Regions from separate parts of the Homo sapiens genome. Here all the other regions are linked to region 1. Evidence: promoter capture Hi-C in 16 types of primary human blood cells and fetal thymus (Javierre and others, 2016). All regions are on one chromosome and are shown on one strand. Each heading gives the region's core, a stretch centred on a gene start or on the middle of the fragment in contact. The rest is flanking DNA. Distances are from core to core; before and after follow the strand shown. Region 1 holds the start of KRT37 (keratin 37). Region 2 holds the start of LOC124904002 (a long non-coding RNA gene). Region 3 overlaps KRT40 (keratin 40).

Evidence for each region. Contacts are between HindIII fragments. The CHiCAGO score rates a contact against its expected background, and 5 or more counts as called.
Region 2: a fragment that was not itself captured here is called in contact with the fragment with the promoter of KRT37 in region 1 in 3 of 17 cell types (total CD4 T cells, naive CD8 T cells and naive CD4 T cells); the score reaches 6.6 in total CD4 T cells.
Region 3: a fragment that was not itself captured here is called in contact with the fragment with the promoter of KRT37 in region 1 in 10 of 17 cell types (total B cells, total CD4 T cells, activated CD4 T cells and 7 more); the score reaches 7.1 in total B cells.

The regions. Positions count from the first base shown.
Region 1 is chr17:41,422,702-41,427,152 of GRCh38, forward strand. It overlaps KRT37 (keratin 37), which reads right to left and starts at 1,884. Exons shown (of 7, transcript NM_003770.5): 1 at 1,331-1,884; 2 at 1,061-1,143; 3 at 77-233. The coding sequence starts at 1,822. The HindIII fragment of the contact is 11,234 bases long and covers 1-4,451 here.
Region 2 is chr17:41,107,208-41,111,137 of GRCh38, forward strand. LOC124904002 (a long non-coding RNA gene) reads left to right here and starts at 1,025. Exons shown (of 2, transcript XR_007065754.1): 1 at 1,025-1,172; 2 at 2,797-3,930. The HindIII fragment of the contact is 4,149 bases long and covers 171-3,930 here.
Region 3 is chr17:40,978,829-40,982,830 of GRCh38, forward strand. It overlaps KRT40 (keratin 40), which reads right to left. Exons shown (of 7, transcript NM_001389244.1): 3 at 3,479-3,635; 4 at 2,162-2,323; 5 at 1,957-2,082; 6 at 1-196. It overlaps LOC107985072 (a long non-coding RNA gene), which reads left to right. Exons shown (of 4, transcript XR_001752886.2): 3 at 1,621-1,779; 4 at 3,500-4,002. Among named protein-coding and RNA genes, the nearest start is that of KRT40, 3.5 kb to the right of the region's middle. RefSeq lists an enhancer at 1,178-1,779. The HindIII fragment of the contact is 2,975 bases long and covers 799-3,773 here.

The sequences.
Region 1 (4,451 bases), core at 634-3,133:
CTGAGAGCCCCAGGGCCGGGGAGCTCCCCTGTCTGCCCAGCGCCCTCCCCAGGAGTCTGAGCAGCCAGGGCCACACCTGCTCGTGGTTGCTCTTGAGGGAGAGCTGCTCCTCCTTCAGGGACTCCTGCTGGGCCTCCAGGTCGGCCTTGGCCAGGGTCGCGTCATCCAGGAGCTTCTGCGTCCCGCACTTGTCCGCCTCCACCAGCTGGTGAAGGGAGCGCTCACTCTCCAGCCTTCCGTCACAGGAGGCACAGGGTCAAAAAGAATGCCCCAATAGCCCCTCTCAGCTGCCCTGGCTTCCTACCTCCCACACCACCTTGGATCCTTATTTGTTCACGTGGGCAGTATACACTATTCTCAACCCTGCAGCGACACGGTTTGTAGTCAGGACATTATGCCCATTGACCAGATGGAAGACTGAGGCTCAGAAACAAAACACGAGTTGTTCAGAATTCCATGCCCAGTTAATAGTAAATGCATGGACTCATCCTAAGTGTTCTGACTTCAAATGCAGCATTTATTCTGCCATAATAGGAGTCATTTGGCCAGGAAAAAGAATGGCTAAAAATAAGCCTCTGGACCTTCAGTTTGCTGCTTTTCCTCTTGGATTCATTATTTCTCGTTGTTTTCTTGCTTTTCCCCTTCATTCAAGCACAACTCTAGCTACCAAGGAGCTTCAATGACAATTCCTCCAGCTGATGGATTTGGCCAAGAGTCAGAGAGTCTAGCAACAACCTATGCATTGACAGTTTATTTTTGTGATGACTCAATTTTACTTCTGATTGAAAAGCAAAATCCTCTTATCTTCTAGATATGGGAGAAAGTGACATAGGTTCTAACCAATCTAGACTACAGCCCTTCTTTTTCTTTCAATGCTTATATTCTCTTTCCTCCTATATAATGACCATTTCTAGCAACAGGCTAATTTAAGGTGTGGAGAGAAATATTCTTCTAGTCAAAAACTGTTTTTGAACACCTACAATATAGACTGAGTAATGGGGCGGGCCCTTGGAAATACAGCAGGAGAGAAGTCACACTGACCCTCCTCATCCTGACTTACTTGATCCTAAAGTCATCAGCAGCCAGCTTCGCGTTGTCAATTTGTACAATCAGCCTGGCATTCTCAGCCTTGCTGCACAGGATCTGAGGAAAACGGAAAGACGGTTCACACACAAAGCACCATACTCTAAGCTCCCACTCCATGTGTGGTATTTACGCTCATGTCCAAGAGAAACCAAGAACCCAAAGCTCTCTGGACCTTATGCAGATTCCTCCTGCGAAGGCTTCTGCCTTCTCAGACCCAGCATGCCCAGGCGATCCCACACCTCACCTTCTGCTGGAGCTCCTCGATTGTACGGAAGTAGGACTGGTAGTCGGGGCACACGGTGGACTCGTGGCACTTGCTCCTCTCGAGGAGTGTGGTCTCCAGCTCTGCATTCTCCTGCTCCAGCTGGCGCACCTTCTCCAGGTAGTTGGCCAGGCGGTCATTCAGGAACTTCATGGTCTCCTTCTCATGGCCATTCAGGGTGTTTTTGCCGTAGGCCCCACAGATTCCGATGTTGCCGGGAATGTGACAGGTCCCTGGCAAGGGACAAGCAGTGTGACTGGTTGGGGGCAGACAGAGGCTGGGGCGGCCCAGGGGAGTCGACCCCACACGGACTCTGTTGGCGTGTGCCACGTTGGCCAAGAGGCACATGGAGGCAGCATTGGCCTCTGCCACAGGCTGGCACCCAACATCGATAGGAGAGACAAAGACATTTCTTGCTCCAGGAGCCATGGTGCAACCCAGAGGGCATGAGGAGGTGCTGTAGAAGGAGGTCATGGTGTAGGGCTGAGGCTGCACAGGAGCTTCAGATCAGCTGGGAAGGCTGAGCCACTGAGACTGAAGCCTCCTCTCCTCCCAACCCTTTTATACCCCATCCTGGGCGGGTGTTGGCTCCAGTGCTTTGACCTCCTGCCTTGATTATCTACCTGTTGTGGTGCCATCATCCTGTTACTCAGCTGCTGAGTTTACCATGAGAAGTTCCTCAGCTCATTAAAGCAATGTTGACAAATCTGAGATGCCTCTTGGCTCTTCCATATCAGGTTAGCTGTTGGTGGGAAGTCAGAGACTCACTGTTTCTGCTCAACAAACACCAGCAGTTGATTCAGGCCCCAATTGCTCTCTCTGGACTATGGTCTCTGTGGATGTGGTCACAATGAAGGCTCAAATCTTTCCGTCAGTAATTTGTGTAGCAGGAGACACAGAGAACCAATGGGACCCACTGGATCTTTCGCCTGTGCAAGACTGAATCAGCCTTTCCTTTGAAGAGAAAATATCAGTTAATAAAACCAATGCATCTACTGATATTTGACGATTGAGAGGCGCCTTTTTTTCTTTCTTCTTTCACATTGCATACTCCCTTGAGAAGCAATAACATCTGGAAGCAATGGCGCTAATTAAGTTTTGGTTGACTAGTCAGAATCAGCTATTCATTCATTTGTTCATTCATTCATTGGTTCAGCATGCTTCCTGAATATCCCCCATAACTCAGGCAGTGTGCTGGTTCCTGGACACGCAATGTTCCCTGTTCATCAGGAGTAAACAATGCCTCTGAAATCTCTGGATGTTCTACACAAACTTGAATGAGAACCATAGATCAACAAGAGTTAGTGAAAGACAGAGGATCTATAGTTCTGGCCAAGGAAGTATCTAGAAAGAAATCACTAACAAAGAAAAATCTTATTTGATCCAGGAAAGGGAGATTGGGCACAGAGCTCAAGCAGTATTCAAATGAAAGGTCCAGAACTAACATTGATTGAGTACTTAGGTGTGCTAGGCATTCTACTGTGTTCTTTCCTATCTAACCCTTACCACCTATGAGGTGGTTACTCATTGCCTCAATGTACAGATGAGAAAACTAGAGTGAAGTACATTTGCACATTTTCTGATTGACAGTTAGTGAACTGGCAAAGGCTCGATTCAGTCTCATGTCTGCTAGGCCCATTCTCTTTTCACTTCATCATGGCCCCCGGTGAGAACAACGGTGTCATTGCCCCGTCAGTGCTGGGCCTAAGGAGAGGGCAAGAAGGGGCTTAGTTACTGGATGAGAAATTGTGGTGAAAAGAAAATTACTGAAGGTCTTTGTGTTCCAGCAAAGGAAAAGATTTAAATACTATGGCAGTGACAACAAGAAAATGCACTTTAAAAAGTTAAACTAGGCCGGGCGCGGTGGCTCACGCCTGTAATCCCTGTACTTTGGGAGGCCAAGGCAGGCGGATCACCTGAGGTCAGGAGTTCGAGACCAGCATGAACAACATGGAGAAAACCGGTCTCTACTAAAAATATAAAATTAGCCGGGCATGGTGGTACATGCCTGTAATCCCAGCTACTCAGGAGGCTGAGGAGGAGAATTGCTTGAACCCGGGAGGCGGAGGTTTCCGTGAGCCAAGATTGCGCCATTGCACTCCAGCCTGAGCAACAAGATTGACACTTTGTCTCAAAAAAGAAAAAAAAAGTTACGCTAGTTTGTAACATATGCATCATTTAAGACAGGGTGCGTCCTGAGAAATGCGTCGTTAAGAGATTTCTTCACTGTGGAAACATTATAGGGGGAACTCACACAAACCTAGATGGTAGAGCCTACTACACACCTAGACTGTATAGCACAGCCTATAGCACCTGGCTACAAACCTGTACAGCATGTTGCTGTACTGAGTATCATAGGCAACTATTATTAACACGATAATATTTGTGTATCTAAACATAGAAAAGGTAATGCATTGCACTACGACATTATAACCACTTCCACATCACTAGAGAATAGGAATTTTCAGCATCATTATAATCTTGTGGGACCACCGCCCGTATATGTGGTCTGTCGTTGACAGAAACATTCTGACTGTATATCCCAAATCCCAGAGATTTCCAGTAGAGCTGGAAAACAAGTCAACCAATGGGGGTGTGGCCAGGAGTCATCCCTCCCAAGTGGTAGAGGGAAACCAGAAGGACCATGGGACAAGCTCTAAAAGAGTATAAATAAACTCTTTAAAAAAAAAAAAATCCCAATTAGTGGGAAAGTAAATGGCTGATACTAGTAGCAAAACCTTAAGTCTTTGAAATTGACATACTGGAAATGAGCCATTATTAAGATTTTAAATGAAAATAATAGGATTTAGACATAAAATAGGAAGCAAAATACAGTAAACAGAAATCGTGTAGCCAAATATGCATCAAATATGCATTCCCTTCAGCTACACTTTTTTCCTCTGAAATACAAGTTTTAGAAAATCTTAGAAGAGGGGTGGGCGCAGGACTTAATGCTGGGAAGCAACAACTTTGGGGCTGAATTTACTTGAATGGATTACAAATTGCATTGTTACACAGCTAAAAAAAACTTTATGTATGAAAAATGATAATAGCCTTACACTGAGTACAAATAATACTTAAAAGCATGTGAAGATGTGAGCAT
Region 2 (3,930 bases), core at 995-3,494, 320 kb before region 1:
TTGAATCTGAAAGAATATGGTAAGTGACTATAACTTGGCATTCTAGTAGGAGCACCTGCTCTTGATGTTTTTACTTTTATTTGACTATTATCAGCTCTGAAATGGCCTTAAGCTATTGAGCCAATCAAGTTTAAGATGATTTGTTCAGATATGTTCAAATATGAAAAATAAGCTTCATATTTTTTCAGATGCCTTAAGAAAAATGTTGTCCAGATCTCAGTCATAGAGTTATGATGCCTTCTTAAACATGAGGCAGGATAAATAAGGTTAGGAGGCTGTGAAAGTAAAATAAATATTGGGGCCCCCAAATCACTAAGCTAAAGGGAAAAGGCAAACTCGGAACTGCTTAGGACAAACTTGCCTCTCATTCTATTCAAAGTCACCCCTCTGCTCACTGAGATAAATGCACTGATTGCCTCCTTGGGAAAGGCTAATCAGAAACTCAAAAGAAGGCAACCATTTGTCTCTTATATACCTATGATCTGGAAGCCCCCTCCCAGCTTCGAGTTGTCCCGCCTTTGCTTCGAGTTGTCTTGCCTTTTCTGGACCAAATCCGTGTTCATCTTACATATGTTGATTGATATCTCATGTCTCCCTAAAATGTATAAAACAAAAGTGTTATCTGACCACCTTACACACATGTCATCAGGACTTCCTGAGGCTGTGTCACCGGAGCATCCTCAACCTTAGCAAAATAAACTTTCTCAATTAACTGAGACCTGTCTCAGATTTTCTGGGTTAACATTTTGGTAACTGTGAAAGGATTCTGAGTGGAGATGCCCTTGACCTTTGACGAATATCCTGTTGGTGCCTGGTAATAGCATGAGCTAACTTTATGGCTCAAATCAATAGGACAATTTGCTGAGGTCTGGGAGCACCCTCCCCAAAGAATCCCTGATCTCCCCAAATTTGGTGAAGAACTAAAGTTCATTTTGCTGTACAACTGCCCCACCTATTTTTGTTTTTGGAGTTTTACTTGCTTACTTGCCTTCCTTATAAGGAAGGCAAGATTTACTTTTACTTCCTTTACAAGGAAGGCAAGATTTCCTGCTTCCATGATGATGAAAGGCATGTAGAGTTTGAGCTCACTCCCAGCAGGGAAGACCAGTTTGAGTTTTTTTCCTGCTTCTAGGGTGGTAGAAAGCAGCCTTCAGCCTGAGACCCATCCCTAGGTAAGTAGCTGAACTGGGGCTTTGTCTGGGCTAAAGTTTAACAACCAGCTAGCTGCTCTTAATTTCTCCTTATCATTAGAGTGCTTGGTAATCCTATGGTTGGAGATTTTGTTGTTTGTTTTGGTCTTTCTCCCATCAGACTTGACCAACTCTACCTGACTTGGTCAAATCCAAGTGAGAATTCAAAATTACGGGTAACAAAACCTCTCTAATTTGGCTAAAATTCATTGCAGCTGCAAAAGAAGAAAACAAACAAAAAGAACCAAAAACCCATGCACTTGGTTTCTGTGTTTGCTTCCTGTCTTAAAACACGAATGTTCTTTCGTTTACTTTTCTTGCACCATATACCTCCTCCCCCTTTGCCATATGCAGTACCAAAAAGTCTAGAGAAGGCTTCTAATGACTTGAACCCCCTTAAAGAATTCAGAACAAAGGTTGCCACTCACCCCTTTTGGGGTGTTTTGTTTTCTTTGTGGAGTTTCAAGAGTCATGGGTAGATTCTTCTTAACTCTAAACCTCTATTTTCCTGTATTGCATGACCTGACCTCTTTGGCTTTGACCTTGTTGTGTATAGTGGTAGATGAGAGCTACAAAGTTAAGGGGTGGCTGAGCAAGGTTTACAAAAAGTGGTCTTGGCTGTTGTTTTGTTTTCCTTCTAGGAATTTGTCGTTTAAAGATCCTAATTCTAGTTCACAAATGCATTCTAAAGGATCTTCTCTGTTGCTTTTTCTCCCCAAATTAAGCTCAATTCAGCTTGTCTGTGTGCATTTGCATGAGGAACTGAACTGTTGTTTTCAGTGGTGACCCACTGTGGAGTCCTGCCCACAAATGGCACATATTGATCCACCACAGAAAACCTCTAGGCCTCAGCTCAGTTCCTCTTTTTAAGAAGAAAACTGGGAAACAAATAATCTAAGAATGAGGAGAAAGCAAAGAGAATGATTCCCTTTCAAGCACTCCATAGGTTTTATGGCACCTGTACTTGCCAGAGTTTAAGTAAAATGGAAGTAATATGGTCTTTGTGCATATTTACATTAAGAAAGAAAGGGCCCATGTAAATTAGTTCAACCATTGTGGAAGACAGTATGGTGATTCCTCAAGGATCTAGAATCAGAAATACCATTTGATCCAGCAATCCCATTACTTGTTATATACCCAAAGGAATACAAATCATTCTACTATAAAGACACAGGCACATGTATGTTTATTGCAGCACTATTTACAAGAGCAAAGACATGGAACTAACCCAAACGCCCATCAATTATAGACTTGATAAAGAAAATGTGGTACATATACACCATGGAATACGATGCAGCCATAAAACGGAGTGAGATCATGTCCTTTGTAGGGACATGGATGAAGCTGGAAACCATCATCCTCAGCAAACTAACACAGAAACAGAATACCAAATACAACATGTTCTCACTCATATATGGGAGTTGAACTTTGAGAACACATGGACACAGAGAGGAGAGCAACACATATCAGGGGCTGTTGGGGGGTGGGGAATGAGAGGAGGGAATTTAGAGGATGGGTCAATAGGTGCAGCAAACCACCAAGGCACACATATACCTATGTAACAAACCTGCACGTTCTCCTGCATGTGTATTTCATTTTTTTTTAGAAGAGAAAGAAAAGAAGGAAAGAAAGCAAGCAAGCAAGAAAGCAAGCAAGCAAGAAAGAAAGAAAGAAAGAAAGAAAGAAAGAAAGAAAGAAAGAAAGAAAGAAAGAAAGAAAAGAAAAAGAAAGAAAAGAAGAGCCTTAAGGTCAACCTACAAACTACAGAGTTCCTAAGTTCTCTTTTTTCTCTATTTTCTTTTCTGCCTGCTTTAAATCTGCTGTTATTTTTCTATTAAGATCAAAACCACTGTTTGGATACAACAGGCTTTTTGTTTGCAACCTGGTGAATTTGTATTTGTCTCATGGCTAAAGTTCTGAAGTAAAAGCTATAGGATTTCTGTGTGTGTGTTTGTGTGTGTGTGTGTGTGTGTGTGTGTATCTATTTAAAAGGCCTTTATAATTTTTATAATTTTATGTTTAATTGGCAATTAAATCCATTTTGACTTCCCTCTAGCACCACCAGACTTTTTCTCTCTGTACCTTATGATATAATTTTGCTATTTGATTTTTGCCTGAGTTGTTTCCTTTAACATGCAAACTTAAGGCTATTTAGCTGACAACTCCCTAGGGGAGTAAAACAGGTTATTAAGAATTTGAAAGCCTAAGATAGGGGAAAAAAGCTCCTTAAGTATCTATACGATGTACTTCTATCAGCATGCCTACTATGTCTATATATTTATGTGATGTGTACACAATTTCTCGCTACTGAAAATATATAAAAGAGTTCTAATTAATTGGCTTAAGATAAAAAGCACTTGAATCTAATACTTTATCAGGAAAAAAGAAAAGACTAGTTGAATGCTTTCTGAAGTTTATGTAACAAGTAAAATCTTTAATAAATAAGCTAGCTTTAAAATTATTGGTAAAGTAATATTAGACATGTCTTAAAAATTGCCAGCATGCATTTTTGTTTGCATTTATTAATCAAGCAATTTCATGCTTATCCCTGTCAAATACCATAAGGTGTCAAAATTTGCCATGGAGTTACAAAACTGTAATAGAATGATCTTTGCTTGTATAATCTTTAATAAATAAGACATTGATATTGGTTTAATAAAAATAGTCACATCTTGAATTTAGTGAGATTACTGTAACTTCTAATTTTGTGGTTTTGGTGGTCTAGTCCACAGGCAGTAAG
Region 3 (4,002 bases), core at 1,036-3,535, 440 kb before region 1:
CCCAGTACGTGTTGATCTCACCCTCCAGCCGGGCCTTCACGTCCAGGAGCACCTGGTACTCCTGGTTCTGTCGCTCCAGGTCGCAGCGGATCTCGGCCAGCTGGTTCTCCAGGTTATCGATCAGACACTGAATTTGGGCCAGCTGGGAGCTGTACTGGGCCTCGGTTTCTGCCACGGTGCATTCCAGAGATTCTGTCTGCGGGAGGAAACATTGTCCAAAGGACCATGAAGTGCAGTCTCTCGGGCCAGAGTGCCTACTTTCAAATTCCTGCTTACCCTTTTCTAGCTATGTGACCACTGGCAAATTATTTAGCTTCTGTGAGTCTCAGTTTTATTCTCTGTATAGTGGAGAATACAAAGTATCTGTTTCATTAGACGGTTGTGAAGATTAAGAGTTAATATGCGGGCTGGGCGCGGTGGCTCAGGCCTGTAATCCCAGCACTTTGGGAGGCCGAGGCGGGCGGATCACAAGGTCAGAAGATCGAGACCATCCTGGCTAACACGGTGAAACCCCGTCTCTACTAAAAATATAAAAAATTAGCTGGGTACGGTGGTGGACGCCTGTAGTCCCAGCTACTCAGGAGAATGGTGTGAACCCGGGAGGCAAAGCTTGCAGTAAGTCAAGATCATGCCATTGCACTCCAGCCTGGGCGACAGAGGGAGACTCCGTCCAAAAAAAAAAAAAAAGAGTTAATGTGCGTAAAGCATTTAGAACAGTGCCAGCCATACTGCCACTGTTCTACGTGTCAACTATCACTACCACCACTATGACTACAGCAATACATGACATATTTGTGAAGCTTAAGGACTATCCACAACATATGAGAGGAAAGATTGAGTTTGGGCTCTTGGCAGGGAGGGGTAGTATAGTGCTATTAAGAGAAGAGGCTCTGGATACCAGAGGCTGGGACTGGCATATGTGTGGTAAGGGGATGAAGAGAGGTTGGTTAATGGGTGCAAACATACAGTTAGACAGAAAGAATATGTTTTCATGTTGGACAGCAGAGAAGTGTGACTACAGTTAACAACAATACACTGTGCATTTCAAAATAGCTAGATGGGAGGACTTGAAATGCTCCCAACACATAGAAATGATAAATACTTGAGGTGATGGATGCTCTAAATATCCTGACTTGATCATTACACATTCTATGCATGTAACAAAATATCACATCTACGTAAAAAAAATTTACGCATATTATATATCAATAAAAATAAATTTAAAAAGAGAGAGAGAAGAGACTCTGGGATTCAACTGGCTGAACTCAGCTTCCAAGTTTGCCTCTTAGAATTGCATCCTTTGCAAGTTACTTAATCTGAGTCTCAGTTTTCCTTATCTGTGTCATGGGATAAAGGTATCTATCCGGTAAAGTTACTGTGAGCCTTAAATCAGCATAGTGCCTCTCACAGGATGAATGCTCAGCTATTGTTCTTCTAGGTGTTCTCCGCAGGGCCTAATGACATGCACACAGTGGTGCTTGACCAGAACTGGTTCATGTCATCTTGAACGCATGGTGTTCCTGTTGCTTGAGTGGGGGGTGGTGCAGTGAAGGATAAGGTTGAAGTGTAGATCCTGGGAAACTGTAGGATGAAATGTTTGAAAATGATTCTTTGTTTTAGATATAACAGTGAGCCTGGAAAACTGGCCTGAATCAAATGAGAATTAAAACCTGCCAGAATGCTTAAGCGACCATGGCCCGGAGGTTTCTCTCCAGCTCTGCTTCTCCCTCCCTGTCTCTGGAGGCTGCTGCAGCATCAGACTCAAGCCCAGGAGTGAAGGTAAGGCATCTTAGAGGACAAGCTGTGGACCTGTCACTTCTGCTTCTATTAATAGCTGGGTAAACGGCAGTACTCGGGAAAGGCAAGGAAATGTGATCCTCGGATATGGAAGAGGGCTTAACATCTCAGGGCCTGACTTATCAGTGACACAACGGACACTGCCTTTGCCTCACGCACCAGGCTTTGCTGTGCTTGGAGCTCAATTTCCAGAGCACTGGCTGTGCGTTTCAGTTCCAAGATCTCCATCTGGCAGCCCTGCAGCTGCTCCGCGCTGGACAGTTGCTGCTGATTCAGCTCTTCTGTCTGAAACACAGACACCATTAGAGAATTCAAAAAAGGCAGAAGTCTGTAAGCCTGACATTTTTTCAATCTGGGTACTGACCTGAACAGCCAACCATTCTTCAGCTTCTCTGCGATTGTTGGCAAGCACCGTTTCACACTGACAGCGCATCTCATCCAGGACCCTGTTGAGGTCAAGGGTGGGGGCAGTGTCCAGCTCCACACTGAGGCGGTCGCCAAGCTGTTCACGAAGCAAGTTGACTTCCTGAAAGTGGGATGGTGTAAAGAATGTCACAGAATGGTGGGGAAAAATCCATTTGACATCCAATGGCATTCTACTTCTGTTTTTTGGAGCAGTGGGTAAAAGTGTGAGATTTTGATTCAGATTGCCTGGGCTGAATCTCTTTTCACCACTTAGAAGGGCCTCAGTTTCTTCGTCTGTAAAATGGACATAATAATTGGACATTTTTCCAGAAAGTTATTGTGAGATCTAGAAGAGTCAATCTACACATAATTAACTTATAAAAGTTAATTATGACACATAGTAAGGTGTCAATAAATGTTAGCTATGATTGTCATCAACAAACGTTCAAAGAGCAAATGTACTTTGTTACATCATTCAGCTTTTCATTTTCTAGCTTTATCAATATATCAGTGGCTGTATATTTTATGATTTTTAGAAGTTTATAAATGCGGAATATTTAAAAACACTGGTCCAGATAGTGCACAGTCTTTATCCCTTTTTTGAAATGGACTTCACAGTCTGTTCCTCAGCCTGATTTTCATACCCTGTGGACTGGAGCTAGGGGTGGCATAAAGCCTCCAAAGGAAGCCATTTGTGAAGTTACCTCCTCCACAAAGGCAAGGGCAGGAGAAGAGTTTGATTCCTTCCTCTGGCGCTGTCTAGGGGTTATTTCACACCTTAAATCAGAGACACACTGGAATGATCAGGTTGAATAGTAATAATGCCTCGAGTAGTTTTTGTTTGTTTGTTTGTTTGTTTGTTTTTTGAGATGGAGTCTCGCCCTGTCACCCAGGCTGGAGTGCAGTGGTAAGATCTCGGCTCACTGCAACCTCCGCCTCCTGAGTTCAAGTGATTCTCCTGCCTCAGCCTCCCGAGTAGCTAGGACTACAGGCGCCTGCCACCATGCCCAGCTAATTTTTGTATTTTTAGTAGAGATGAGGTTTCATCATATTGGTCAGGCTGGTCTCGAACTCCTGACCTTGTGATCCTCCTGCCTCAGCCTCCCAAAGTGCTTGGATTACAGGTGTGAGCCACCATGCCTGGCCCTGCCTCAAGTAGTTTTATTCCAGCTTAAACAACATCTGCCCAAATTCGATTTACAAACATCAACAGATCATCTGTCAATGTAAGTACGTTACTCTCGGAGTCCTTCAGCGGAGTTGCCACTTTCCTTACCTCTTCATGGTTTTTCTTAAGGCAAAGGAGATCTTCCTTCAGAGACTCCACATGGGCCTCCAGATCAGATTTGCACAGGGTCAGTTCCTCCAGGATCCCATGCAGGCTGCTGATGTCAGCCTCTAACAGCTGGCGAAGGGACAGTTCACTCTCGTACCTTTCACAGCAAAAGAGAAATCCAACGCTTACTTTGCTGAACGCTGTGCAAAGTGTGGGGATACATGGAGGATCGACACACGGACTTCAGGAAGCCATGTGCATAATTTCTCTTAATTCCTAAGTAATGATAAATTCAAGCTTTTAAAACATTCTTAACTTTAAAATATTATATAGAGAATATTTGTGTGTGTGTGTGTGTGTGAGAGAGAGAGATTGAGAGAGAGAGAGCCATAAGTTATTTTCAAATTAAAATTAAAGCCGGGCGTGGTGGCTCATGCCTGTAATCCCAGCACTTTGGGAGGCCAAGGCGGGCAGATCACCTGAGGTCAGGAGTTCGAGACCAACCTGGCCCACATGGTGAAACC